3 separate regions of the Homo sapiens genome follow, and all the other regions are linked to region 3. Evidence: promoter capture Hi-C in 16 types of primary human blood cells and fetal thymus (Javierre and others, 2016). All regions are on one chromosome and are shown on one strand. Each heading gives the region's core, a stretch centred on a gene start or on the middle of the fragment in contact. The rest is flanking DNA. Distances are from core to core; before and after follow the strand shown. Region 1 overlaps NUP214 (nucleoporin 214). Region 2 overlaps NUP214 (nucleoporin 214). Region 3 holds the start of FAM78A (family with sequence similarity 78 member A).

Evidence for each region. The method cuts DNA at HindIII sites, captures the fragments that hold promoters and counts their contacts. A CHiCAGO score of 5 or more calls a contact.
Region 1: a fragment that was not itself captured here is called in contact with the fragment with the promoter of FAM78A in region 3 in 9 of 17 cell types (megakaryocytes, naive CD4 T cells, total CD8 T cells and 6 more); the score reaches 8.6 in megakaryocytes.
Region 2: a contact is called between a fragment that was not itself captured here and the fragment with the promoter of FAM78A in region 3, in 3 of 17 cell types (megakaryocytes, erythroblasts and total CD8 T cells). The highest score is 9.9, in megakaryocytes.

The regions. Positions count from the first base shown.
Region 1 is chr9:131,188,372-131,191,720 of GRCh38, reverse strand. NUP214 (nucleoporin 214) reads right to left here. Exons shown (of 36, transcript NM_005085.4): 26 at 2,590-2,668. Among named protein-coding and RNA genes, the nearest start is that of NUP214, 64 kb to the right of the region's middle. The HindIII fragment of the contact is 1,078 bases long and covers 1,520-2,597 here.
Region 2 is chr9:131,169,114-131,172,549 of GRCh38, reverse strand. All of the region lies in intron 21 of NUP214 (nucleoporin 214), which reads right to left. Among named protein-coding and RNA genes, the nearest start is that of NUP214, 45 kb to the right of the region's middle. The HindIII fragment of the contact is 5,166 bases long and covers 1-3,436 here.
Region 3 is chr9:131,274,526-131,278,053 of GRCh38, reverse strand. It overlaps FAM78A (family with sequence similarity 78 member A), which reads left to right and starts at 1,544. Exons shown (of 2, transcript NM_033387.4): 1 at 1,544-2,197. The coding sequence starts at 1,875. RefSeq lists a silencer at 195-1,374 and enhancers at 2,015-2,514, 2,675-2,724, 2,755-2,804, 2,217-2,829, 2,815-2,864 and 2 more. The HindIII fragment of the contact is 5,571 bases long and covers 1-2,324 here.

The DNA of each region.
Region 1 (3,349 bases), core at 809-3,308, 87 kb after region 3:
TTTAAGGCTGTTTACTTCTATATACATTTCTGCATTTTCCACAGATTTTGTTGGCATTTAACAAATAATCGTGTTCTTTTTTTAAAATTACAGATGTAAAACATGATTGCTATAATATGGAGACATGCAAAAAGGTTAAAAGTGCAATCCATCATTCTCCCCATGTTCGATTTCACTCTAACTACTTACTTATAGTTTGGGTACAATCTTCAATCTTTTCCCTACTGCTCTACTTTATTTATTTATTTATTTAGAGACAGAGTCTCGCTCTGTCGCCCAGGCTGGAGTGCAGTGGCGCAATCTTGACTCACTGCAATCTCTGCCTCCCAGGTTCAAGCAATTCTCCTGCCTCAGCCTCCCAAGCAGCTGGAACTATAGGCATGCACCACCATGCCCGGCTAATTTTTGTATTTTTTTTTAGTAGAGACAGGGTTTCATCACGTTGGCCAGGCTGGTCTCGAATTCCTGACTTCAGGTGATCCGCCTGCCTTGGCCTCCCAAAGTGCTAGGATTACAGACATGAGCCACCAGGCCTGGCCTTGCTCCACTTCAAAAGGGGGAAAGGAAAGAGGAAAACTATTTAAAAGCCCAAATCAAACGAAACTAAACCAAACAACAACAAGAAAAAAAAAACACCAACCTTCTAAAATAAACAAACACAGGGTAGATGGCAGTACAAATATTTTTAAAACTACTGATATACAATGTAAAATGTACAGGATGAAAAGTCACAATCTAAATCATCAGCAGAGTACTAGTTAAATTTAACAGGGTATAACTACACAATGAGGTTGTAGACAGCTCTTAAAATGAGTAAGGTGGATCTGTATCAGACCTGCAGAGACCAAGACATTTATTGTAAGAGGGGGCAGAGAAGGGGAAATAAGTTACAAAATCAATATATATAGGATATACAGTATATAGGATATTTTTCTTTAAAAAACAATGAAGTAACCTCAAGAGATATACATGAAATCATGATCTCTGGAATACAGAATCTATAGGGCAGCTTTCACATTCTACATTATATATCTCTACACCATAGGCTTTTTCTGGGCATGTAATAGTTTTACAATCAGAAAAACAATGAAGGTATTTCCATTACTAATAAGAGAACTATTCTCTAGAGGTTTTAGAAATGCTCTTTTTCAAAAAGAAACTTTTTGCAAACTCTTAAGCAGCACCTTTCAGGGAAGTTTTCCTACCAAAAGAAAAAAGTTCTTTTCTAAACCTTGATTACCTGGCAAGTGAAAACAGAAGTGAACACCTCGTAACAAAAGAGAGGATTTCATGATCAGCAATGAATGGTGAATCTCGGAAATTTCTTGCAAGTCACACTACTTGCCCAGACATGCATAAAGCAAAGTTCCTTAGGTTTCTTTGATTCTAACTCCAAGAGTGACAAAAACCTCTCCAATGAAGTCCTTGAAAAAAGAGTATATGATCTTTCAAAACCTTTTTGTAAAATACTCAAGTCTTTGACAGTTCTACTATATAATTTTCCTTTTAACATAAAGCTTTAGGCCCCGGTCGAGAAGTGCTAGATACCTCCTTCTCATGTGAGGCGTACATGATACCAACTGTGGTTCCATATCACTCCGAATTCTAGAATACAACTCTGGCTTATGCAATAATGGCTTCCTTCTGCAAGGAATAGCTACTAAAGATAAATCCAGTATCCAATCAGAAAGTTTGGGATTACAGAGAAAGTCAGAATGACTGTATGATTAAGATTATGAGACGCAGGCTGCTAATGTATGAAGTTCAATTTCTAACAGAATTTGCTTGAAGGCCCACTTAAGAGCATGATTGAAACAAATGCCAGAATCAACAGTGTTGTAAAAATTCAGTATTGCAGACAGCACAAGACCCTTGCAGCAGGAAGTAATACACGCCAAATTAGGTAGGCTATAATAAAGGAGCCAACAAAAGGGGACACTGAGGAAGACCCACATTCTGCATAAAGTTGGTTTGGGCAATGACACTTGGACAAAGTGTCTGGTCAAAACACTCATGGTTACTGTGAAAACTAAATTAAGAATAATTATGCTTGAGTGAGTGTAGGAGAAGTTACGTGAAGCCATAAAATCTCATAATATCGACTCATTATATACTCTGAGATCTTACAAATCTGTTTCACTTTCTCTACCTTATAGGCTTTTGAACTGTCACTGTGGACCAACAGAATTTTTAATTCCTTTTAGTGGAAGAAATAGCGTTTAGCATTCTGATCCATTCCTCTCAACTGTGATCATCCAGCAAGGAAGAAAAAGATAATACTATTGCTCCATTTTAGGAAAAGAATTTAAAGGGAGGTTTTTCTCCTATTGCTCTATCATTTTCAAACTAACCTAAAAATTTCAGAAGTCTACATAGCCATTGAAGGGCATACTAATTTTCTAGAAATTCTTCATTAGCTGACGGCTTTCAAATATGATCTCTTGTCTATGGTCATACTACCCTGAATGCTCCCGATCTCATCAAATGTGACTCCTGTTTCCTATGGCAACTGTCTCAGTGATCCAGAACAATAACCCCTATTGTGGAGTGCTTCTTTCACTTTTCAAGAAAACAAAAATGCAAACTGACCTGAAGCTTTGTCACCAGATGATAACTGACCGGATGCTGGTGTAGGCCCAGATGGCTTAAGGGAATTTATTAGAGACCCCTATAACAGAATGCAAGCAAAATGTTTATGTTAAACCACTAACCATTCTTTGTAACAAAGAAATATGTAAAATGTAAACACAAAAATATAATTTAAAATAAGCAAGGACAAATACTTTTAGATAAATTACCAAAAAGAAAAAGGAAACAAAAAAAAGGTCTCAATTTAAGTTAACCATATGTAAGATCATATTAAAGGATGAAAATAGAAATACTCTGCAAGCTCCAAGAAGGCAGTCACACTGGCCTAGTTCATGGCTATCTTCCCAGTGCCTAGCACAGTGCTTAGCACATCAAAAGCACTTGACTATTAGGTAGATGAATTAATGAAGGAGTAAATTAATAAAATGGTTCTAGCTCTCAAAGCATGTACAATAAGGTTAAAAGCAAAACTGACTTATCCATCTCCAGTCAATGTTCCTTCACTCGCCATGACTTATGCCTTATCATGTGTTTTCCATGGTGAACACAAATACCTCCAGAAGAAAGATCGAATGCTAAATGCTTAAATGCCATTTTAAGTTATGGTAAACTAAGGAACAGAGGCAAGTTTGAGAACTTAAATAGGCAAGTCCTGATATCCAGTCTCAAATTCTGATCTCTAACACAAACTACTCATCTCAGAGACAGATGTAAGAGTAGTGAGAGAAACCAGAACTTCTTAGGAAGAGTTTCAGCACTA
Region 2 (3,436 bases), core at 222-2,721, 110 kb after region 3:
CTTCCTGTGAGACAGCAAAAGAAACTACCATCAGAGTGAACAGGCAACCTACAAAATGGGAGAAAATTTTCACAACCTACTCATCTGACAAAGGGCTAATATCCAGAATCTACAATGAACTCAAACAAATTTACAAGGAAAAAACAAACAACCCCATCCAAAAGTGGGTGAAGGACATGAACAGACACTTCTCAAAAGAAGACATTTATGCAGCCAAAAAACACATGACAAAATGCTCACCATCACTGGCCATCAGAGAAATGCAAATCAAAACCACAATGAGATACCATCTCACGCCAGTTAGAATGGCAATCATTAAAAAGTCAGGAAACAACAGGTGCTGGAGAGGATGTGGAGAAATAGGAACACTTTTACACTGTTGGTGGGACTGTAAACTAGTTCAACCATTGTGGAAGTCAGTGTGGCGATTCCTCAGGGATCTAGAACTAGAAATACCATTTGACCCAGCCATCCCATTACTGGGTATATACCCAAAGGACTATAAATCATGCTGCTATAAAGACACATGCATACGTATGTTTATTGCGGCACTATTCACAATAGCAAAGACTTGGAACCAACCCAAATGTCCAACAATGATAGACTGGTTTAAGAAAATGTGGCACATATACATCATGGAATACTATGCAGCCATAAAAAATGATGAGTTCATGTCCTTTGTAGGGACATGGATGAAATTGGAAATCATCATTCTCAGTAAAATATTGCAAGGACAAAAAACCAAACACCGCATGTTCTCACTCACAGGTGGGAATTGAACAATGAGAACACATGGACACAGGAAGGGGAATATCACACTCTGGGGACTGTTGTGGGGTGCGGGGAGGAGGGAGGGATAGCATTAGGAGATATACCTAAGGCTAAATGAAAAGTTAATGGGTGCAGCACACCAGCATGGCACATGTATACATATGTAACTAACCTGCACATTGTGCACATGTACCCTAAAACTTAAAGTATAACAAAAAAAAAAAAAAAAAAGAAAATCTTCCTGTGAGATAACAACTAGGTACTGTTTTAAGCCGCTAGGTTTGTGATAATTTGTTACGGCATCCATAGGAAACTAATACAAACCCATGTTTTCTTGGGGCCAAATTTCTCTCCATAATTTCTCCAAAATCCTATTGTAGTTCCTGATAGTAACAATAAAAGATGACTCAAATAATCACATCACCTTCAAGAACTAGACAGAAAGAGACACTGGAATAACTATGTAACCTCCAAGGTCCTATGTAACATGAAGGTACTCTTAGTTCCTTCCTTCACCTTTCTGAGGCAATTTACCTGCCTTCGGTGGAGGAACCCCATCAACTGAAAGATGCAATGGGCATGCTCACTCACAGAAGCATGGGGCATGGACTGCTCACTATGCCAATGGTGCTGCCTCCACCATTAATGGGTGCTGCTCTCTGCTGTGATCAAGGATGCAGCTAACTGCCTGGCATTAGAAAGAGCGTCCCACTGAAATTTAAAGAATCTTATTCTGTTTACACTCTACGTCAGATAAGGAAAGGTAGAAAGCTACATGACTGAGGGCAGGGAGGGTGGGGAGACAAAAGGATAGAAAGTCATATGATCATCTCAGTAGATGCAGCAAACCTCACATCTTAGGATGAACTATAGAAAGTGCTCCTTTTGAGATCAAGGAGAGCTACACGACACTTTTACGCTGCACTGGAGGTTCTAGCCAGTGAAGTAAGGTAAAATAATAATAATAATAATAATGATAATAATAATAACAAAAGGACTGGAAAGGCAGAAACGTCACCATTAGTATCCATGGAGGATTTCATTGTTTCCATAGTTACAAGGCCAAGAAACAGCTACAGACGTGTTAGAATAAATGAATTCTGCCAGGTTGTTGGCTGTAAGTAAATACACATAAATCAATGGTATTTCTCGATACTACATCCAACATAAACCATAAAATTTAAGGAAAAAAAATCTACCATTATAAGAGCAACAAATTTTTGCAATTAAATTTTTAGCAATTAATCTAACAAAAGATGTGCATGTCTCCCACGCAGAAAACATTAAGAGAAATTAAAGAACACCCAAATATACAAATATGTACCCAGTTCAGGAACTGAGAGTTCACTACTGCACAAATGTCAATTCTCAAGTTGATCTAGAGACTCAATACAATTCCAATCAAAATCTCAACTTTCCTTTGAAGGCTGAGGAAGGCAAAATTCCTCCCCCAAAACTTTCTTTTTTTAAAGACGGAGTTTCGCTCTTGTTGCCCAAGCTGGAGTGCAACGGCATGATCTCGGCTCACTGCGACCTCTGCCTCCCGGGTTCAAGCGATTCTCCTGCCTCCCTTCTTTTTTATTTATTTATTTTTTTATTGTGGTAAAATATACATGACATAAAATGCACCATAGTCACATTTTAAAGTGTACAGTTCCATGGCATAAATACATTCCTAATGTTGTATAACCGTGACTACCATCTATCTCCAGAACGTTTTCATCTTCCCGAACTGAAACTTCATCCCCATGAAACACTAACTCCCCATTTTCCCTCCTCCAGCTTCCGGCAGCCACCATTCTAGTTCTGTCTCTATAGTTTTGACTACTCTAGGTACAGGGAGGTAGAATTTAACAAGACAATTTTAAGGTTAATATGAAAATGTAAAACACCAAGAAAGGCAAAACATTCTAGAGCAGGAGTCAGAAAACTACAACCATAGACCAGCTGTCTCTTTGCAGAAATATAAAGTTTTGCTGAAACACAGACATGCCCCTCTCATCACATGGTCTGTGGCTGCTTTCCCATTACAACAGCAGAGTTAGGTAGGTGCAATGGAAACCACAGCACCTGCAAACCTCAACTATTCTCCAGCTGGCCCCTTACAGAAAAATCTGCCAACCCCTACTCTGAATTGTAGAACTTTCTGCAATGATGAAATGTTCTTTATACGTGTTTGCCATTACAGTAGCCATTAGTCACATGTGCCTACTGAGCACTTGAAATGTGGCTACTGGGATTGCAAAACTAAATTTTAAATGTTACTTATTTTTCTTTTTAAAATTTATATATTTATCTGAGACAGGGTCTCACCACTCCTTTCCCAGGCTGGCCTCGAACTCTTGGGCTCAAGTGATCCTCCTGCCTCAGCCTCCTCAAAACAGCTGGGATTACAGGCATGCACCACCTTGCCTTGCAATTTTATTTAATTTAAATGTAAGCAGAGGCTGGGCGTGGTGGCTCACACCTGTAATCCGAGCACTTTGGGAGTCTGAGGCAGGCGGATCACAAGGTCAGGAGATCGAGACCATCCTGGCCAACACGGTGAAACCCCCATCTCTACTAAAAATACAAAAAAATTAGCTGGGCTTGGTGGCACGCAGCTGTAGTCCCAGCTACTTAAGAAGCTGAGGCAGGAGAATTGCTTGAACCCAGGAGGCAGAGG
Region 3 (3,528 bases), core at 295-2,794:
CCGCCGCCGCCTGCGGACCTGCATCCCCGCGGGGCCGGCGAGCGGGCGGCGGTCCCTGCGTGCGCCGGCTGCGCTCGGCCGGCGGCGGCGGCGAGCGGACGCGGGGGCCGGGCCGGCGCAGGGGCCGAGTTTCTGCAAAGTTTGACCCGGTTGCCTTTCCGATGCTGCAGCAGAGCGAGGCAGCGCGGGGCGCGCCAGGCGGCAGCGGCGCGGCGGCGGGGCTGAGCGGCGACAGCGCGCTCACAATGATCATAAAATAAAGGAGGCGCGCGGGGTGGGGGCGAGAGAGCCCCGAGCCTCAGCCCTCCGCCCCCGGCCGCCCCCCCGAAGCCCCAAGCCGGGAGGAGGGTGGGGGCCGGGGGCGCCCACGCCGGCCCCAGACTCCAGTAGAGCCAAGGGACAGTGCCCGGGGAAGGGGGTGGGGGCGCCCCAAGAACGTGCCCGCGGCCGGGTCAGGGGCGTCCGGAGAGCGGCTGCCCGGGCCAGCGGAGTGGCCCCCGGGGCAGGTGAGTCGGCGGCGCCGCCCGAGTGGGGGCGTGCGCGCCAAAGTTCCCCGGCAGCGGCGAGCGCGCCCGACGCGTGGGGACCCGGGGCTGCTCGCGGCTGGAGAGGGGCGACAGAGGCGCTTGACGCGGCGGAGCGGGGGCACTATGCCCTCCGAGGGCCGAGGGACCCCAGCCGGGAAAGGGGTGCCCGCCGGATCCGACGGCACTGGTGGGTGGCCCTGCGCCCAGGGAGCCGGAGGGACCGGGGTGGGGAAGGGGCACCTGGCGCTGGCGGCGCGGCGGTGGGGACAGAGCAGGGCAAGTGCTCGCCGCCCCCTGCAGCGGCAGCCGCTCGCCCCCCACCCCGCCCGTCCGGGACGGTATCAGCGGAGATGTCACGGGCGGCTATTATTCGCTGGTGCGCGCGGTCGTGCGGCCGCCACTGACGGGGCGGGCGCGGGGGGCGGGGGCCACCGCCTCCGGGGAGACCGCCCAGAGCTGCGCCGTCAGCTCCGCAGCCCGCGCCCAGCGCACACGCGTCGCCGCCCCCGCGCGCCCCCCGCAGCAAAGTTCGGCTTAACTTTGAGGCTGGCCTTGACGCGCTGTCCCTTCCACCTCCCACCAGGTCCTCGGCGGCCGCGGCGAAGCAGGCGGCGGCGGCCGGAGCGCAGCCCCGGGACCCTGCACGGCGGCCGGCAGCGACAGCGGCGAAGGGACGCGGCGCCCCTGCGTGGGGACGTCCGGCCCGCGCCCGCGAGTGGGCGCCGACGGGGACCCGCGCCGCGCTCCCCCGTCACCGGCGAGCGGCCGGAGCCCTGAGCTCGCCTCCTGGAAGCCGCGGGTCGGCGCTCGCCCCGAGGGCGCCGGGACCTCGGCCGGGTGAACACAAACTGCTCTGCAATTGATTCGACCGCGCCGGGCGGGTGCGGGTGCGGGGCCCGGAGGGAGCGCGTGCGGAAGGCCGGAGGGCAGGAAGTCAGGCTTCTGCCGCGAGGGTGGCGCGGCCGCGCGGGGACAGAGCCTTCCTTATTTATGAGTCTGCCGGCGCTCGCCTGCTTCCTCCGAAGACTTCAGGGAGAGTCTGCGAGCTGCCGTCCCCGCGTGTGAGGCACAGAAGGGCTGGATGTCAGAACCGCATAATTATTCATTAAACTACAAACTTTTTTTAACCCAAAGAATATCGGTGATTTTTGTCCACTGCGAGGAGAAGAAGAGAGAGCCCAGGGCTCATGAAATGCAGCAGAATCCTTATTTATAAACAGGCCGCGGTAGTGATATATGCAACCCCAGTCTACTCAGTGAGTTTTCTATCCTATGGATATCGGTCTTGAGAGTTGAGATTGGAGAGCAGCGCCGTCTGTACTGGGTCCTGCAGCCTCTGTCCTTTCAATGCCTGGTTTTTTCTGTGACTGCTGGCCTTCCCTGGAGATCAGAGCGCTCCTGTATGCCATGGGCTGTATTCAGAGCATCGGAGGCAAAGCCAGAGTCTTCCGGGAAGGGATCACGGTGATTGATGTGAAAGCCTCCATCGACCCCGTCCCCACTAGCATCGATGAGTCCTCCAGCGTGGTGCTCCGCTACCGGACACCCCACTTCCGGGCCTCGGCCCAGGTGGTCATGCCGCCCATCCCCAAGAAGGAGACTTGGGTAGTTGGCTGGATCCAGGCGTGCAGCCACATGGAGTTCTACAACCAGTACGGCGAGCAGGGCATGTGAGTACGGCCGAGAGCCAGCTCTGGGAACTGCTAGGGATGGCCGAGCTTGGAGGCCTGGTGGGGGGCCGCGGATAGGGGGAAGGTGGAGATACCATGAAGACAGGACGGAGGCCAGAGGGAAGCTTTAGGCAGGTATGCAGGTGGCCTCATTGGCCCGGTGGCTCCCTGAAAAGTTTGCCTGTGGATCCAGATTGGAGTCACGGTCCTGCAATCTACCCTGCCACTGTTCCCCCCGGGTTCCTGTGTCCTTCCCTGCAAGATGCCGAGAAAGCAGAGAGACATTACTCCCAGTGTTTCCTGGCAGAGCAAGTGTGCCGTCCGCCTGAGGAGTGTCTGTGCCATCAGGGGTCACCAGAGAGGCTGCAGGGCTGCCCTCCAGGCCTCTGGCCCTGTGCGGGCCCATGGCAGACATTCAGGCACTCTGCAACTCCCAGACCGGTGTGTTCAGGGCTTTGCGATTGGGCCTCAATTATCTTTCTGGCTTTTACCAGTGTATGCCAGGAGCTGGGGGAGTGCTTCCCCGTTCCAAACGGCACTGTGTTTGAGAGCACAGTTAGTTTTAGAAGCCCGATTTCTTCACAGTGTATCGCTTTCTGTCTCCAAGGCAGAAGACCGCTTTATGCAGACAAGTCCAGTGTCCCTCTGGCGAGGCCCTAACAGGAACAGCAAAGAGGAGCCTCTCCTCTGCAGCCCCAAAGCCCGGTCTCCAGAGTGTGCCTAGGGTATTGGGGGTCCCGGTGAGGACCCTGGGACCCTGGGGCTCCTTTCCTGGCCTGCTTCCTGACCCCAGAGAAGGCCGTCCCCAGGGTGAAAAGAGCTGCATTTAGGCAGAGTTGGGAGAGTGACTTAATCTGAAGGTTCACCCTAAGACAGGGATGGTGAAAATAGCTGTTTCTGAGCGTAAGGACCCTTTGGAGAGAGCTAGGCAGGCCCCGGCGGGCAGCCCACCCATGCGGCCCCGTGACTGGCCGCTGACACTCCCAGAACCTCTCTCAGTGTCTACCCTGTGGCCCCGTGACTGGCCGCTGACACTCCCAGAGCCTCTCTCAGTGTCTACCCTGTGCAGCTTCACGTCCCCGTTTTGCAAGTGGGGAAAAGAGGAGAATTTCCCCAGGAGCTGGAACTTATCACAGATTTAAGAATCTCATGGGCCACCTGTAAATGAGAGGGGTGGAGGATGGCGGGACACCAAGTCTGGTGGCTTCTCTACTTAATGACTCCAAAGTTCTAAAGGAAACATGAGGATCACAGTAACCCTTAAGTCCAGCGTGTGACAGTGACTGTCCCAAAGAGGTACATGGGGGGCACATCTAGAGGCTCTCACCGGC